Linked DNA regions of Homo sapiens: all the other regions are linked to region 4. Evidence: promoter capture Hi-C in 16 types of primary human blood cells and fetal thymus (Javierre and others, 2016). All regions are on one chromosome and are shown on one strand. The core of a region is centred on a gene start or on the middle of the fragment in contact, and the rest is flanking DNA. Distances in the headings are between cores, read along the strand shown.

Evidence for each region. The method cuts DNA at HindIII sites, captures the fragments that hold promoters and counts their contacts. A CHiCAGO score of 5 or more calls a contact.
Region 1: a fragment that was not itself captured here is called in contact with the fragment with the promoter of SMYD4 in region 4 in 2 of 17 cell types (M1 macrophages and M2 macrophages); the score reaches 5.2 in M1 macrophages.
Region 2: the fragment with the promoter of CRK here is called in contact with the fragment with the promoter of SMYD4 in region 4 in 1 of 17 cell types (neutrophils); the score reaches 8.1 in neutrophils.
Region 3: a contact is called between a fragment that was not itself captured here and the fragment with the promoter of SMYD4 in region 4, in 1 of 17 cell types (total CD8 T cells). The highest score is 5.4, in total CD8 T cells.
Region 5: a fragment that was not itself captured here is called in contact with the fragment with the promoter of SMYD4 in region 4 in 2 of 17 cell types (M2 macrophages and naive CD4 T cells); the score reaches 7.0 in M2 macrophages.

The regions. Positions count from the first base shown.
Region 1 is chr17:2,315,380-2,318,079 of GRCh38, forward strand. It overlaps SRR (serine racemase), which reads left to right. Exons shown (of 8, transcript NM_021947.3): 2 at 178-349; 3 at 2,491-2,617. The coding sequence starts at 182. Among named protein-coding and RNA genes, the nearest start is that of SNORD91B, 12 kb to the right of the region's middle. The HindIII fragment of the contact is 2,533 bases long and covers 1-2,517 here.
Region 2 is chr17:1,454,980-1,457,679 of GRCh38, forward strand. It overlaps CRK (CRK proto-oncogene, adaptor protein), which reads right to left and starts at 1,253. Exons shown (of 3, transcript NM_016823.4): 1 at 898-1,253. The coding sequence starts at 1,138. RefSeq lists an enhancer at 422-1,407 and silencers at 672-801, 912-971, 1,062-1,561. The HindIII fragment of the contact is 20,688 bases long and covers 1-2,700 here.
Region 3 is chr17:2,331,457-2,334,156 of GRCh38, forward strand. It overlaps TSR1 (TSR1 ribosome maturation factor), which reads right to left. Exons shown (of 15, transcript NM_018128.5): 6 at 2,101-2,260; 7 at 1,505-1,668; 8 at 713-903. Among named protein-coding and RNA genes, the nearest start is that of SNORD91A, 2.4 kb to the left of the region's middle. The HindIII fragment of the contact is 2,823 bases long and covers 1-2,667 here.
Region 4 is chr17:1,828,600-1,831,299 of GRCh38, forward strand. SMYD4 (SET and MYND domain containing 4) reads right to left here and starts at 1,303. Exons shown (of 11, transcript NM_052928.3): 1 at 1,127-1,303. RPA1 (replication protein A1) reads left to right here and starts at 1,406. Exons shown (of 17, transcript NM_002945.5): 1 at 1,406-1,527. The coding sequence starts at 1,495. RefSeq lists a silencer at 1,155-1,674 and an enhancer at 2,302-2,700. The HindIII fragment of the contact is 18,459 bases long and covers 1-2,700 here.
Region 5 is chr17:2,259,666-2,262,365 of GRCh38, forward strand. All of the region lies in intron 8 of SMG6 (SMG6 nonsense mediated mRNA decay factor), which reads right to left. Among named protein-coding and RNA genes, the nearest start is that of SMG6, 43 kb to the right of the region's middle. RefSeq lists an enhancer at 51-180. The HindIII fragment of the contact is 2,389 bases long and covers 198-2,586 here.

The DNA.
Region 1 (2,700 bases), core at 1-2,500, 490 kb after region 4:
CTTCGTTCAGCTTTTAAGTCAACTCTCTTTTAGGGAAATTCTGACACTCCAATAATGGAGAATTTCCACATGACACCACAGGCCCCAGGTCTATTCTGTTACGTATTTTCAAAATCTCTTCAATAAACATACTGTCTCAGACTTTGCTTTGACCCCTTTCTTATTCCTGGGTTTCAGAACCATGTGTGCTCAGTATTGCATCTCCTTTGCTGATGTTGAAAAAGCTCATATCAACATTCGAGATTCTATCCACCTCACACCAGTGCTAACAAGCTCCATTTTGAATCAACTAACAGGGCGCAATCTTTTCTTCAAATGTGAACTCTTCCAGAAAACAGGATCTTTTAAGGTAACAATCCTTTTTCTCAGTGTATCATGTATGTTTTCACACCCTTTCACATATCAGTTTGATTCTCCTGACCACCCAATGAGATAGGCAGAAGTAAATTAATGCCTTTATACAGCTGGAAAAAAGGTTACAGAAATTTTCCTTTCAAGTCCTTGTTTTACCTAGCATCATAGTGTTGATAAGCAACTTTTACACAGTCATAAATCCTTATAATTAGGATAATATATATAACTTATCCGAGTAATTTTTATATATATGTATGTGCATATATATAATATATACATAAAATACAGTCATATGCCACATAACGTTTCAGTCAATGACAGACCACCTATATGATGGTGGTCCTTGGTCCCATAAGGTTATACCACACATTTACTGTACGATTTCTGTGTTTAGATACAGAAATACTTCTCATTGTGTTATAGCTGCCTACAGTATTCAGTACAGTAACATGCTATACAGGGTTTGCAGCCTAGGAGTAATAGGCTGTAACAGCTGGATTTGTATAAGTACACTCTATGGTGCATGCAAGATGATGAAATTGCCAAATCATGCATTTCTCGAAACATATCCCCATCCTTAAGCAAAGCATGACTTTATTATATATACCATCACTTACTGTCCAAACTAAGACATAATTTATTATCCAAACTAGGACATGTTTGGGACTGAAAGAAGCAACCTGAAATATCTAAACAGACACCTGAACTGTTGCAGGCAAATTGGAAAGTGTTATCACTCTGTATATGACCCAAGTTTAAGCATTCACTGTATCAACTTGCTACACATGGATACATTATCAATATAAAAGATCTAAGCCTGGGCCACACGGCAAAACTCTGTCTACAAAAAATACAAATATATGACAGGCGCAGTGGTTCACACTTGTAATCCCAGCACTTTGGGAGGCTGAGGCAGGTGGATCACCTGAGGTCAGGAGTTCGACACCAGCCTGACCAACATGATGAAACGCTTTTTTGTTTTGTTTTGTTTTGTTTTGAGACGGAGTCTCACTCTGTCCCCCAGGCTGGAGTGCAGTGGCACGATCTCGGCTCACTGTAAGCTCCACCTCCCAGGTTCACGCCATTCTCCTGCCTCAGCCACCCGATTACCTGGGACTACAGGCGCCTGCCACCACGCCCAGCTAATTTTTTTTTTTTTTTTTTTGAATTTTTAGTAGAGACAGGGTTTCACCGTGTTAGCCAGGATGTTCTTGATCTGACCTTGTGATCCGCCCGCCTCTGCCTCCCAAAGTGCTGGGATTACTGGCATGAGTCACCGCACCCAGCCTTGGTGAAACACTTTCTACTAAAAATACAAAATGAGCGGGACTTGGTGCCAGGCACCTGTAATCCCAGCTGCTTGGGAGGCTGAGGCAGGAGAATTGCTTGAACCCAGAAGGCAGAGGTTGCAGTGAGTTGAGATCACGCCATTGCACTCCACCATGGGTGATAGAGGAAGACTCCATCTCGGGGGAAAAAAAAAAAAAAAAAAAAAAGGCCGGGTGCGGTGGCTCACGCCTGTAATCCCAGCACTTTGGGAGGCTGAGGCAGGCGGATAACGAGGTCAAAAGATCGAGACCATCCTGGCTAACACGGGGAAACCCCGTCGCTACTAAAAATACAAAAAAATTAGCCGGGCGTGGTGGCGGGCGCCTGCAGACCCGGCTACTCGAGAAGCTGAGGCAGGAGAATGGCGTGAACCCGGGAGGCGGAGCTTGCAGTGAGCCGAGATCGCGCCACTGCACTGCAGCCCGGGCTACAACAGAGCGAGACTAGGTCTAAAAAAATAAAAAAAAAAAATTTAGCCGGGCATGGTGGCAGGTGCCTATAATCCCAGCTACTTGGGAGGCTGAGGCAGGAAAATCACTTGAACCCGGCCCTGGGGGTAGACGCAGTGTGGGGAGGCGGACGTTGCAGTAAGCCGAGATCGTGGCACTGCACTCCAGCCGGGATAACGGAGACTCCATCTCAAAAAAATAAAAAATAAAGATGCACATGAGATATTTAAGAGGTAAATCGATAAGATTTGGTGACAGATTGGATGTGCATGTTAAGGATAGAAAATCTAGAAAAGCTCCTTGCTTTCCAAAACAATGTTTTAATCAAATATGTGAATTCACCATCCCTCTTTTTCAGATTCGTGGTGCTCTCAATGCCGTCAGAAGCTTGGTTCCTGATGCTTTAGAAAGGAAGCCGAAAGCTGTTGTTACTCACAGCAGTGGAAACCATGGCCAGGCTCTCACCTATGCTGCCAAATTGGAAGGTACTTGATTTCTCAAGGTACTGGGTAGATCTTCAGAAAGGAGTGGAAAAGTGCCCTTAATTTCAGTGAGAGTGATGATAGCT
Region 2 (2,700 bases), core at 3-2,502, 370 kb before region 4:
AGCCCCATCTTACTGAGCAAGGTGACGCCCTGAAGTACACACCGACAATGTTTAAGTCCAAGGAAAATGAAGTTCCAGTCACTTACAGGGAAGGGTCTGTTTCCATTGCCTCACTTCTGGTTTATTTTGTGGAATAAAATGTCTTTCCTCCACTAAACACTTTGAAAACCAGAACTCTCTAACGGCGGACAGTCTTCTGGACGCTTAGATCTCTTGCACATAGCCAGGCATCGCCTTAAACTGGGTTGGGCTGGTCACTGAAGGCTTTCTGCTACCACTATTTCTTCTAGCACTTAGTTCACCACCTTCGTCCTCCACGGGGGAAGAGAACGGTACAAAGATTTTGGAAAAATGCCCAAGAAAGGAAAAAATTGACCGGTTTCCTGAGGGTGTCTCCATCCCTCCCGGCCAGTATGTGGTGACTTCCTACCAAAGGCCACCAGGGGAGCACGGCCAAACCCGGCTCTCCAACACGGCAGGAAACGTTTCCAGCCTAAAAGCCACTTGTAGGATTATCGGATTCATTCTGGGCGCCGCTGCCAAGTGATGCCCCCGCAGTGCCAACATCTCCCTCAGCTCTTTGTCCCCACGTTGCCTTGCCCTGCCCTACCCTTGCGCCTGGCCCGGGAGCCAGCCCCACCCTGGGGCCGAAGCAGTTCCCCTTCCCCGCGGCTGCCCTCCCCAGGCACACCCCGGGGCCTCGGTCCGCGGCTCCTCCTCCCCCACACTCCTGCTCCCCGGGTGAGAGCGAGCCCGAGCAGCCGGCGGGCCCCTGCCACGGTCACCCAGCCCTCTGCCCACGACCCCCGAGGGTCCGCTCTCGAGGACCAGCCAGCCAGGCTGGGAGTTCCGCGGCCCTCACCCCGCCCAGGGCCCGCCGTCCCGTCAGTCCCTCACCGGGCGGAGGCTGGGCGGGCGACGGTGGCACCGGCGGGCGCGGGCCGCTGCTGTTGATGATGTAGTGGGAGACGCGCGAGTTCTCTGAGACGCTGAGCACATAGTCCCCGGGGCTGGTGCTCGAGTCCCGCACCAGGAACACCCCGTGCCGCTGGCCCTGCAGCAGCGCCACCGCCTCCTGCCGACTCAACCTCCCCCAGTACCAGCTACTCCGCTCCTCCGAGTCGAAGTTGCCCGCCATGGCTGCCTCCGCGCCTAAACGCTGGGGTGCCGCCGCCGCGCGCGCCCCTCCGGCCCCCGGCGCCCGCCGCCCAGCGGACCGGCTCCGGTTTCAGCTTCACAGCAGCGCCCGAAATGGCGGCGGCAGCCGCGGGCCTCCCCCTCCGGAAATGACGCGCTCCCTGCCCGAGGGAGGCTGCCGGGAAGGGGCCCGCGGCCCGCCATTGGGAGAAGGGCAAGGCGCCCTCGCGCGCGCACTGCGCATGCGGATTCATGGGCGGTGCCGCCCTTCCCGGGCCCGGGCTGCGGGGGATGGGAGGCGGGGTCTAGGGCCCGAGGGGCGGGGCCTCGCAGCCTCCCGCAGAGACGCGCGCCTGCGCTGCGGACAGAGCGGTGCTTCTCGTCTGGGCCCCGGTTCCTGGACGACCTGGGACTTCTAGGCAGCGACTCCCAGACAGAATTGGAGGAGAAAAGATGCGTGTGGCCCTGGGGCCTGAGTTCTCGGCCAGGCTTCCTGCGATATCAGTCTGTTTCTTTTTTCTTTTTCTTTTTGAGACGGAGTCTTGTTCTGTCGCCCACGCTGGAGTGCAATGGCGCGATCTCGGCTCACTGCTCCCGGGTTCAAGCGATTCTCCTGCGTCAGCCTCCCGAGTAGCTGAGACTACAGGCGTGAGCCACCGCGCCCGGCTGTTTTTTGTATTTTTAGTAGAGACGGGGGTTTCACCATGTCGGCCAGGATGGTCTCAATCTCCTGACCTCAGGTGATCCGCCCGCCTCGGCCTCCCAAAGTGCTGGGATTACAGGCGAGAAACATCGCGCCCGGCCACGTCGGTCCGTTTCTGCTCGTTCCTCTAGCTTCTCCACAGACCAGCTGACGTTCTCATTTTCATTGATTCACCTAGGACATTGTTGTTGACACTCCACTTGCACTGCGGGTGCAAAGGTTATCATGGCTGGGCCCTGCACTCCTCGAACTCACAGACCAGTGAGAGGAACCAGGAAACTGGATGACAAAAGGATGACAAATGCTGACAAACGCTATCATGGGAAACGGACATGAACACAGAGCAGAGCCCCCACAGCCAGTCTATGGAGTAATCCAGGAGGGCTTCCCAGAGGAGGCAGCATGTGTTGACTGCTGAATGACAAATGGGGAAGGACATTCTTTCTTTTTTTTTTTTTTTTTTTTTTGAGATGGAGTCTCGCTCTGTCGCCCAGGCTGGAGTGCCTGGGCGTGATCTCGGCTCACTGCAAGCTCCGCCTCCCGGGTTCACGCCATTCTCCTGCCTCAGCCTCCCGAGTTGCTGGGACTGCAGGCACCCGCCACCACGCCCGGCTAACTTTTTGTATTTTTAGTAGAGATGGGGTTTCACCGTGTTAGCCAGGCTGGTCTCGATCTCCTGACCTTGAGATCCGCCCACCTCGGCCTCCCAAAGTGCTGGGATTACAGGCGTGAGCCACCGCACTCGGCGGGGAAGGACATTCAAAGCAAAGGGAGCAGAGTGTACCAAGCCACGTGAAGTACAGAGTTCTCTTCTCTTTTGAGGCTTTGGGGTCACCTGCCCAGATAATTCTAAACACTAA
Region 3 (2,700 bases), core at 6-2,505, 500 kb after region 4:
TTAGCACCACCCTCCTTGTTGAGTGAGTTCTCATGAGATCTAGTTGTTTAAAGTGTGTAGCACCTCCTGCCTTGCTCTCGTTACTGCGCTGGCCGTGTGACATGACTTGCTCCCCCTCCACCTTCTGCCATGATTGTAAGTTTCTTGAGGACACCCCCAGAAGCTGAGCAGATGCCAACACCATGCTTCCTGTACAGTCTGCAGGACCATGACCCAATTAAATCTCTTTTCTTTATAAATTATGCAGTCTCTGGTACTTCTTTATAGCCATGCGAGAATGGCCTAATACATAGCCTTACCTCCTAATATCCAAAATTAATTCACTGGCTTTAGTCACTCACCTCCAGAACAGATATAATCATCTACTTCTTCACTCTTCTACTTCTGCTATTCTACCCAAACCCCCTAAAATTTCCAAACATTATATACTTCAATTGAGTACTGGCTCCTTTGGGAAGAAGTATTTGCTAATTAACCTTAGTATTTCCCCTTCATTCAAGTCCTGTAACGTGAGTCTGCACCACAGTCTAGAACTTAATTACATATGACCATTTCCCGTATGTATGTCCTGCCTTCCCATATTAAATGTTAGCTCTTCAGGAGCAGAAAAAATGTGTTTTTCTTCTTTTGCATCACAGTGACACAGCTCTGAGCCAAGTTTTTAAAAACGTATTGACTGAATTTAGATTTGTTGATAGACTTGTTGACTAACCGAATTCGAGCAGCCACATCACGGGGCGTGTCCACTTCATCTGGAAACATCTCTTCCAGTCTTTCTTGTTTATATTTCTCCAACATTTTTGCCTCAGCTTCTTCATCTACTTTCTTATCATACAGATCATCATGCACAGACTCCCCAATAGTCATAGTTTCATATTCTTCCTCTTCTTCACTACTCTCATCCTGTAGAATAGGATTACAGTTTTTTCAGAAGAAATCCACACCTGTCTCTACCCCAAAGGCCAATAAGCTAAGAGTAAAATAATTGTACTAGATCCCTATTCCCAACCAACATAAATTCTAATACAGTCTAAAGTATAAAACAAAAGCCTCATTCCTGGCAACTACAGAGTCATTCCTAAGAAACTAACCATACACGGCCGGGTGCGGTGGCTCACGCCTGTAATCCCAGCACTTTGGGAGGCCAAGGCAGGCGGATCATGAGGTCAGGAGATTGAGACCATCCTGGCTAACACAGTGAAACCCCGTCTCTACTAAAAATACAAAAAAATTAGCCAGGCATGGTGGTGGGCGCCTGTAGTCCCAGCTACTCAGGAGGCTGAGGCAGGAGAATGGCGTGAACCCAGGAGGGAGAGCTTGCAGTGAGCCCAGATCGCACCACTGCACTCCAGCCTGAGCAACAGAGCAAGACTCCGTCTCATAAAAAAAAAATAAAAAAAATAAAAAAAAGAAACTAACCACACACACCCATCAAGATCACACCTGCACTTTGCCTTACATTTGGAGCTAGACACAGAATTGGCCTAAGGCCTCATTTCCTTACCTGAGATTCCTCCTCCATAAAATCCTCATGTTCCATATCATCATATTCATATTCATCTCCTTCCCCACCACTTTGGCTGCCACCATCCAAAATCCATTCAGCTTGGTAACTGGATGTTCCTTTGGGGACCTTCTTTACCACCTTAGAACTTTCCTTCAAGAAATCTGTAAAAGCCCAAACAAATTAAGTAAATTACAGACTTCTTTTCCCTATCCCTCTGGTTATTCTCACCTAGGCAAGGCACCAGATACTGCTGCCAACATGGGAAATTCTGGCAGACACTGTAAATAGAACTACTTCCAAATTTAATTCAGCTGCCTCACAACTAGCAATACTTACACAGCTAAATAAGCCCTGCAATGAATCCAAAGTTGTTTATCTGTTCATGATAAAACATTAACACAAGTAATTTTGAGAAATGGAACAAGACTGTGTATAATGTTTGTTTATTGAAAACATACAGCATTTGAGGGTGAGGAGAGACTTTCAACTATACCCCCACCCCACTCTATCCTATAGGGCCCTCACTTGGAACAGCTACAGAAAATCCACAATTCCAGGTCAGATGAATTACAGACAAGTTTACCAATACTGACCCTTTGCCTCGCTCAGCTCCTCCTCAGTGGGCCAGGTTTGCTCTCCCTCCATTGGATCTGGGATAACCTCTGCTTGCAAGGATTCCTGTCTACCAGGGTCTGCCTTCATTAGGACTTTAAGACCTTCTTCCATATCATCTACAGCATCCGTAGCACAAATCTGAAAACCAAAAGCAGGTGATAGTCAACCATGAACCAAAAATCTCCTAAATCTAACACAGTAACCAGAAAGACCCAGAAATATCAGTCCTCATGTATAAGATGAGTGCGACAGAATGCTAAAACTTGTCAAAACTTTTCCAATGGCTGTTTTCTAATTTCCAGGGTATTTTAAGTCTCTGCTTGGCTCTTGAGGTCTTTCTTAATCTGCTCCCACTCCTATCCATTTATTACGTACCTCACTCCCATCAAGCTGATTTCTTCAAGGTTCACATAAACCCTTTGATCCACCACTGTGCCTAGGTTCATTCTGTCTCTTATCTTCTAGGATATTCTTTTATCCCTCTTCAACTCATAAATCACATTTATCCTTCTCAACACCTAGCTCAAGTCTGATCTCTTATGTGAAGCTTGCTAGTCTACTTTCTCAACTTCCACTGC
Region 4 (2,700 bases), core at 53-2,552:
TTTTTTTTTTTTTTGTGAGGCAGAGTCTTGCTCTGTCACCCAGGCTGGAGTGCAGTGGCACCATCTCGGCTCACTGCACCCTCCGCCTCCCAGGTTCAAGCAATTCTCCTGCCTCAGCCTCCGAGTAGCTGGGATTACAGATGCGCGCAACTACGCCCGGCTAATTTTTGTATTTTTAGTAGAGACGGGGTTTCACCATGTTGGCCAGGCTGGTCTCGAACTCCTGACCTCAGATGATCCGCCAGCCTTGGCCTCCCAAAGCGCTGGGATTACAGGCGTGAGCCACCGCGCCCGGCCTGATCCCTCTCTAGTTTCTCTGAGACACATCCCAGATTTTTCTTTCTCACCCACCCCAGCAACTATTCATTTAACAAGGTATTTCCCTCTCTTACATAGTTCAGCGTTCTGATTAAGTCCTCACCATCTCGTCTGGCATTCTTCCTAGAGTGTTATAATTAATGTCCATGCCATTGGCACCACTCCCCACTTTCAATCCAGCCTCCAACACTGAGACAGAAGTCAGTGCTCTGCCCTTAAATTCATCAACGCTACTCCAAGCATACCAGGAAGCCCAGGACAAAACCATCCTTACTTGACCCTTGTCTGACTTTCTAATTCTCAGGTGTCACTTACTCCTCTGCATGCACCCTTGCATACTGAACAACTCATTGCTATCCCCGGCTTGCCAGGCTATTTCAACTCTCCAATGTTTTGGCATAGGCTACTCATGCTTTCCGGACCAACCCTACCCTGGCTTATGGAGTCCACCTGGAAAATTCCCACACGTTCTTCGACTCGGCTCAAATGGCACCTCCTCCGGGACGGCGTCCCTGATTTCCCAGCTGTGATTCCAACACCCTTGGGGCCTGTACCACGTCTACCTGGAGGTGGGGTTACTGACGGCATAAAGTGCCCCCACACACTGTCCTCTTCTCTAAGGACGGGGGCCGGGTCTGATTCCCTTTCGGAGACCCCCCACCCCCACCCCCCACCGCCACGGTGCCAAGCTCAGGGCTTGGAGGCGGGAAGTCAGCCCCGCGTTGCTGGACGAATCGGGTCACTACTGCGACTCTATTTAGCAGCGGAGGTCTCAAGGAACAGCTTTAACCTCCTCTGGGATACCAACCCGTGCACTCGCCAGAGACCGAGGCGAGAACGCCTCGAGAACCGCTCAGACGCGCCCGGAACTGCGCCCTGGTCTCCCTCCCAGCGCCCGCGCAGCTCCTGGCGCGCCCCTTGGCGCCCCGCTCCGCCCCGCACCGCGTCCGGCGTCCCGCGCCAGGCCTCGCTTGGGACCATGGGTGGGTCACGTGGGCCGCGCCTCGGCCAATGCGGCGGCTGCGTAGCGCCCGGGCCCGCCCCTGAGCCGCGCGCACGTCGGGGGCGGGAGCGGTGCGCGCAACTTCTCGGGCCAATAACTGCGCAGCGCGCGGGACCCGGGTGGGGAAGCTGGAGCTGTTGCGGGGTCCGCGGGGAAGTCTTGGCGGTGGAGCCATGGTCGGCCAACTGAGCGAGGGGGCCATTGCGGTGAGGAGGTGCCGGGGGCTGGGCCGGCGGTCCGGGGTGGCTGCGGCCCCGAGCCTCGCGGAGTAGAGAGGGGGAGGGGAGCCCGGGGCGACGGGGGATGAACGCGAGGGGAGGAGATGGCGGGGGGCGGTGGGGACCCGCCGGGCGTCCCTCTAGTGTCATCGCCCCCTCCTCAAAGCATTCTTTCGATCGTCTTTAAAACATGCTCACATTTTTCCTACGTAAGAACAAACTAAATAAACGCTTGCCTTTCTCTGCATCTTCCACCTGCGGACACTTTCTGTCTCTTCTCCTTTCCCCACCCACAGCCAAACTTCTTGTCTGGTTTCAGCCACTTCCTTTCCTCGCCTTTCATCAACTCTTTAACCCACTCCAGTCATCCCTTTGATCGCTGTAGAAAACCCTGGCTGAAGGTACCAGTGGCCTCCAAGTTGCTAAATCCAGCCCTTTTCCGTTTTCAGCTTACCTGAGTTCTCAGCAGCGTTTGCGTTTAAGCCCTGCTTGCTTCAGGTCACACCCTCTTCCTTGGTTTTTAGTGGCTCAGCTTGGCAGGTCTATCCCCGTCTTATTTGTAAGTCCCTCTTTGTAAATTTTTGTTGAATCAAGGCTCCCTCTAGGCCCTCTTGACTCCCGAGGCAATTTCTTTTTTTTTCTCCAGCCTGGGCGACACTCACTGTCGCCCAGGCTGGAGTGCAGAGGCGCGATCTCGGCTCACTGCAACCTCCGTCTCCCGGGTGCAAGTGAGTCTCCTGTCTCAGCCTCCCGAGTAGCTGGGACTACATGTGTGCGCCACCACACTCGGCTACTTTTTGTGTTTTTATTAGAGACTGGGTTTCATCATGTTGGCCAGGCTGATCTCGAACACCAGACCTCAAGTTATCCGCCCGCCTCGGCCTCCCAAAATGCTGGAATTACAGGCATGAACCACCGCGCCTGGCCCCAAGGCAATTCCATTGCCATCTATTAATATATGTCAGTTGCTCACAAATTTCTTTGTACAGAGCCACCTTTACTCTAAAAGACAAACTTCCGTCATCTGTCTGCTTATTCCATGCTTCAGAGGGTTTTAAGTTCAGTATACGTATCCCAAAGCAAATTCTTTATCTTTCTAAGTCTGGGCCTCTTGATCCCTATCTCCACGGATGGCACCATTATCTATTCAGTTCAGTGCTA
Region 5 (2,700 bases), core at 142-2,641, 430 kb after region 4:
CTGTCTCCAAAAAAAAAAAAAAAAAAAAAGTTCAAGGAATATGTGTGCATTCGCACACTAATAAAGGGACTGTGCACAGTCCAGAAAAATATTTGAAAATATAACCTCTCTACCTACCTAACGCCATACAGGAAAACCCCTGAATCTCTCAGGAAAGGGAGGAGCACGAACTAATCTAAGAACCCAAAGGAGAACGAAGCTTCAGTTTAAGATAGATGTGGTCACAAAGACGGTTTCACAAACCACTCTGCTGTGGTTATTTGCCATAAAGCAAATAACCAGCACACAGGGAGCTTTGGCTACCTTGTGCGAGCTTCAGATTTAAGCAAGGCACCAAATAAGGGAAGGATTCTGGCGCATCAACTCCCAGGAAAAGTGTTTCAAGTTAAAAATGGTCATTCAGGTTTGGATGTGAACTTCTGTATCTGCTCTTTATCAACAGAGGCAACTCTACCTCCCTGGCAGCTAGCAGCAGAAAAAGAAGAAAACTGTTAGAATACAAATGGATTACACAAAGACAACAACATGGCCTGCTACAGCCTGGCATTCGCCTTGACACTAAAAACAAGGCTAGAAACACGCATTGCAGATCTTCTGGGATTCCACATCTGAGCTGAACCAAGCATGTCCAGGAGAAGGCAGGCCATGATGTCACTTTCCCCCCCCACAGCCAGATGCTTCAAGATGAAGGCTGTAAACCACAGCACTGTTGGTGAGAGACTCAGTTTCACTGTGACTGGAGGCAAGGCCTGCTTCCAGCTAGTTTTTTTGGTCAATCAAATCTTTTCTGTGCTGGTTCCCAGACCCAAACTCTGTAGTTCAAAAGTCAAAGCAAACACCTCAAATCTTTTATCTTTGATCCAATTCTTTATCTTCCAAATTCTCTCTTCGTCCTCTGTCTCTGAACAATGAAAATCAATCTTAACAAGGATCCACAAAGCAAGGAAAACATGGGCATTAACTTCTTCCTAATTTATTTAAAATGCTCTGTCACTGCTATCATTAAACGTATAGAAAAAAATTTGAGTTTAGAGTTAAAAGGGAAGAGGCCGGGCGCAGTGGCTCATGCCTGTAATCCCAGCACTTTGGGAGGCCGAGGTGGGTGGATCACCTGAGGTCAGGAGTTTGAGACCAGCCTGGCCAAAAATGGCAAAACCCTGTCTCTACTGAAAATACAAAAATTAGCTGGGTGTGATGGCGGGTGCCTGTAATCCCAGCTACTTGAGAGGCTGAGGCAGAAGAATCACTTGAACCCGGGAGGCGGAGGTTGCAGTGAGACGAGATCATGCCATTCCACTCCAGCCTGGGCAACAGGGCAAGACTCTATCTCAAAAATATATTTAAGAAAAAAGAAAAAAAAGTCGGGCGCGGTGGCTCACGCCTGTAATCCCAGCACTTTGGGAGGCCCAGGAGGGCAGATCACGAGGTCAGGAGATCGAGACCATCCTGGCTAACACAGTGAAACCCTTTCTCTACTAAAAATACAAAAAAAAAAAAAATTAGCCAGGTGTGGTGGCGAGCACCTGTAGTCCCAGCTACTCAGGAGGCTGAGGCAGGAGAATCACTTGAACCCGGGAGGCGGAGCTTGCAGTGAGCCAAGATCGCACCACTGCATTCTAGCCTGGGTGACAGAGCGAGACTCCGTCTCAAAAAAAAAAAAAGGGAAGAGAAGAATGACAGCGATACAAGTAAATAAACTGCTGGTTATACAAGTATGCTTACATTGTCACAATTTATCACCTGTATGGCTCTGTTATGTGCACTTTTCTGTGTATATATATTTTTGGAAGATTTCTTTTAACTCTGCAATAATTTTTTAAATTGCCACAACTTTTTCTACTAGTCCACAAAAAGCCTTTGTTTCACAGCCAATAAATACCCTTTGCCCCATATGTCCTAATCCCCACCATTATTCTAACTCTGAGGTGGTAGACATGCAGATGACTGGTGCTATAATAAACAACTTTCTGCTACCCCTCGGTGGACAAAGCTGTGCAGATGTGTTGATGGTGTATGCTATATCCCCAGTGTACGGATGTAAAGACAAGGAAAGAGATTAAAAAATCTGTTCATGCAAACAAAAAGAAATTTAGGAATGCAACCCATAAGATCTCACTCCTGGTCTGCAGTGACCACAAGTGACAGCTTCCTAGGAGCACGAAGGGCACTATTAGTGCCTTATTCAACCTTTTGACATATGTCACTTGCAAGTATTTCAAAAGCCATAGAGTTTTATAGATCTGTCCAGAAGTCTAAAGGAAAACCTGCCAAAGACATTCCTCAGAAGAGAATGTCAAATGTGTTAACATAGTTTGCTTGACAAATTAGGACCTAGCATCTCAGAGATTTGTGGCACAAGTAAACTCAAAATCTCAATAGCAAGAATAAGGTTTTAGCATCTTTATCAAGAAAAAAAATCCCAGAAAAATGTAAATCCATAGCGAGTATTATCACAATTCCTCTTTCCCATACGCATCAGGAGCTGCAGTCCTACTGTGTGTGTGAAAGTCAAGAATAGGACTTAGTGCCAATGATTACAACACAAAGCATAACTTATTCCTAAGCCAAGCTGGGCTTGGCTCAGAAAGCTTCCCAGAATGATGGAAGGCATGACTTTAGAGTGAGTCAACCTTTGCTAATACATAAAATAAAGCAGAGAAAGAACTATTTGAAGGATTCACTTCTAAGCTTGAGCCAAAT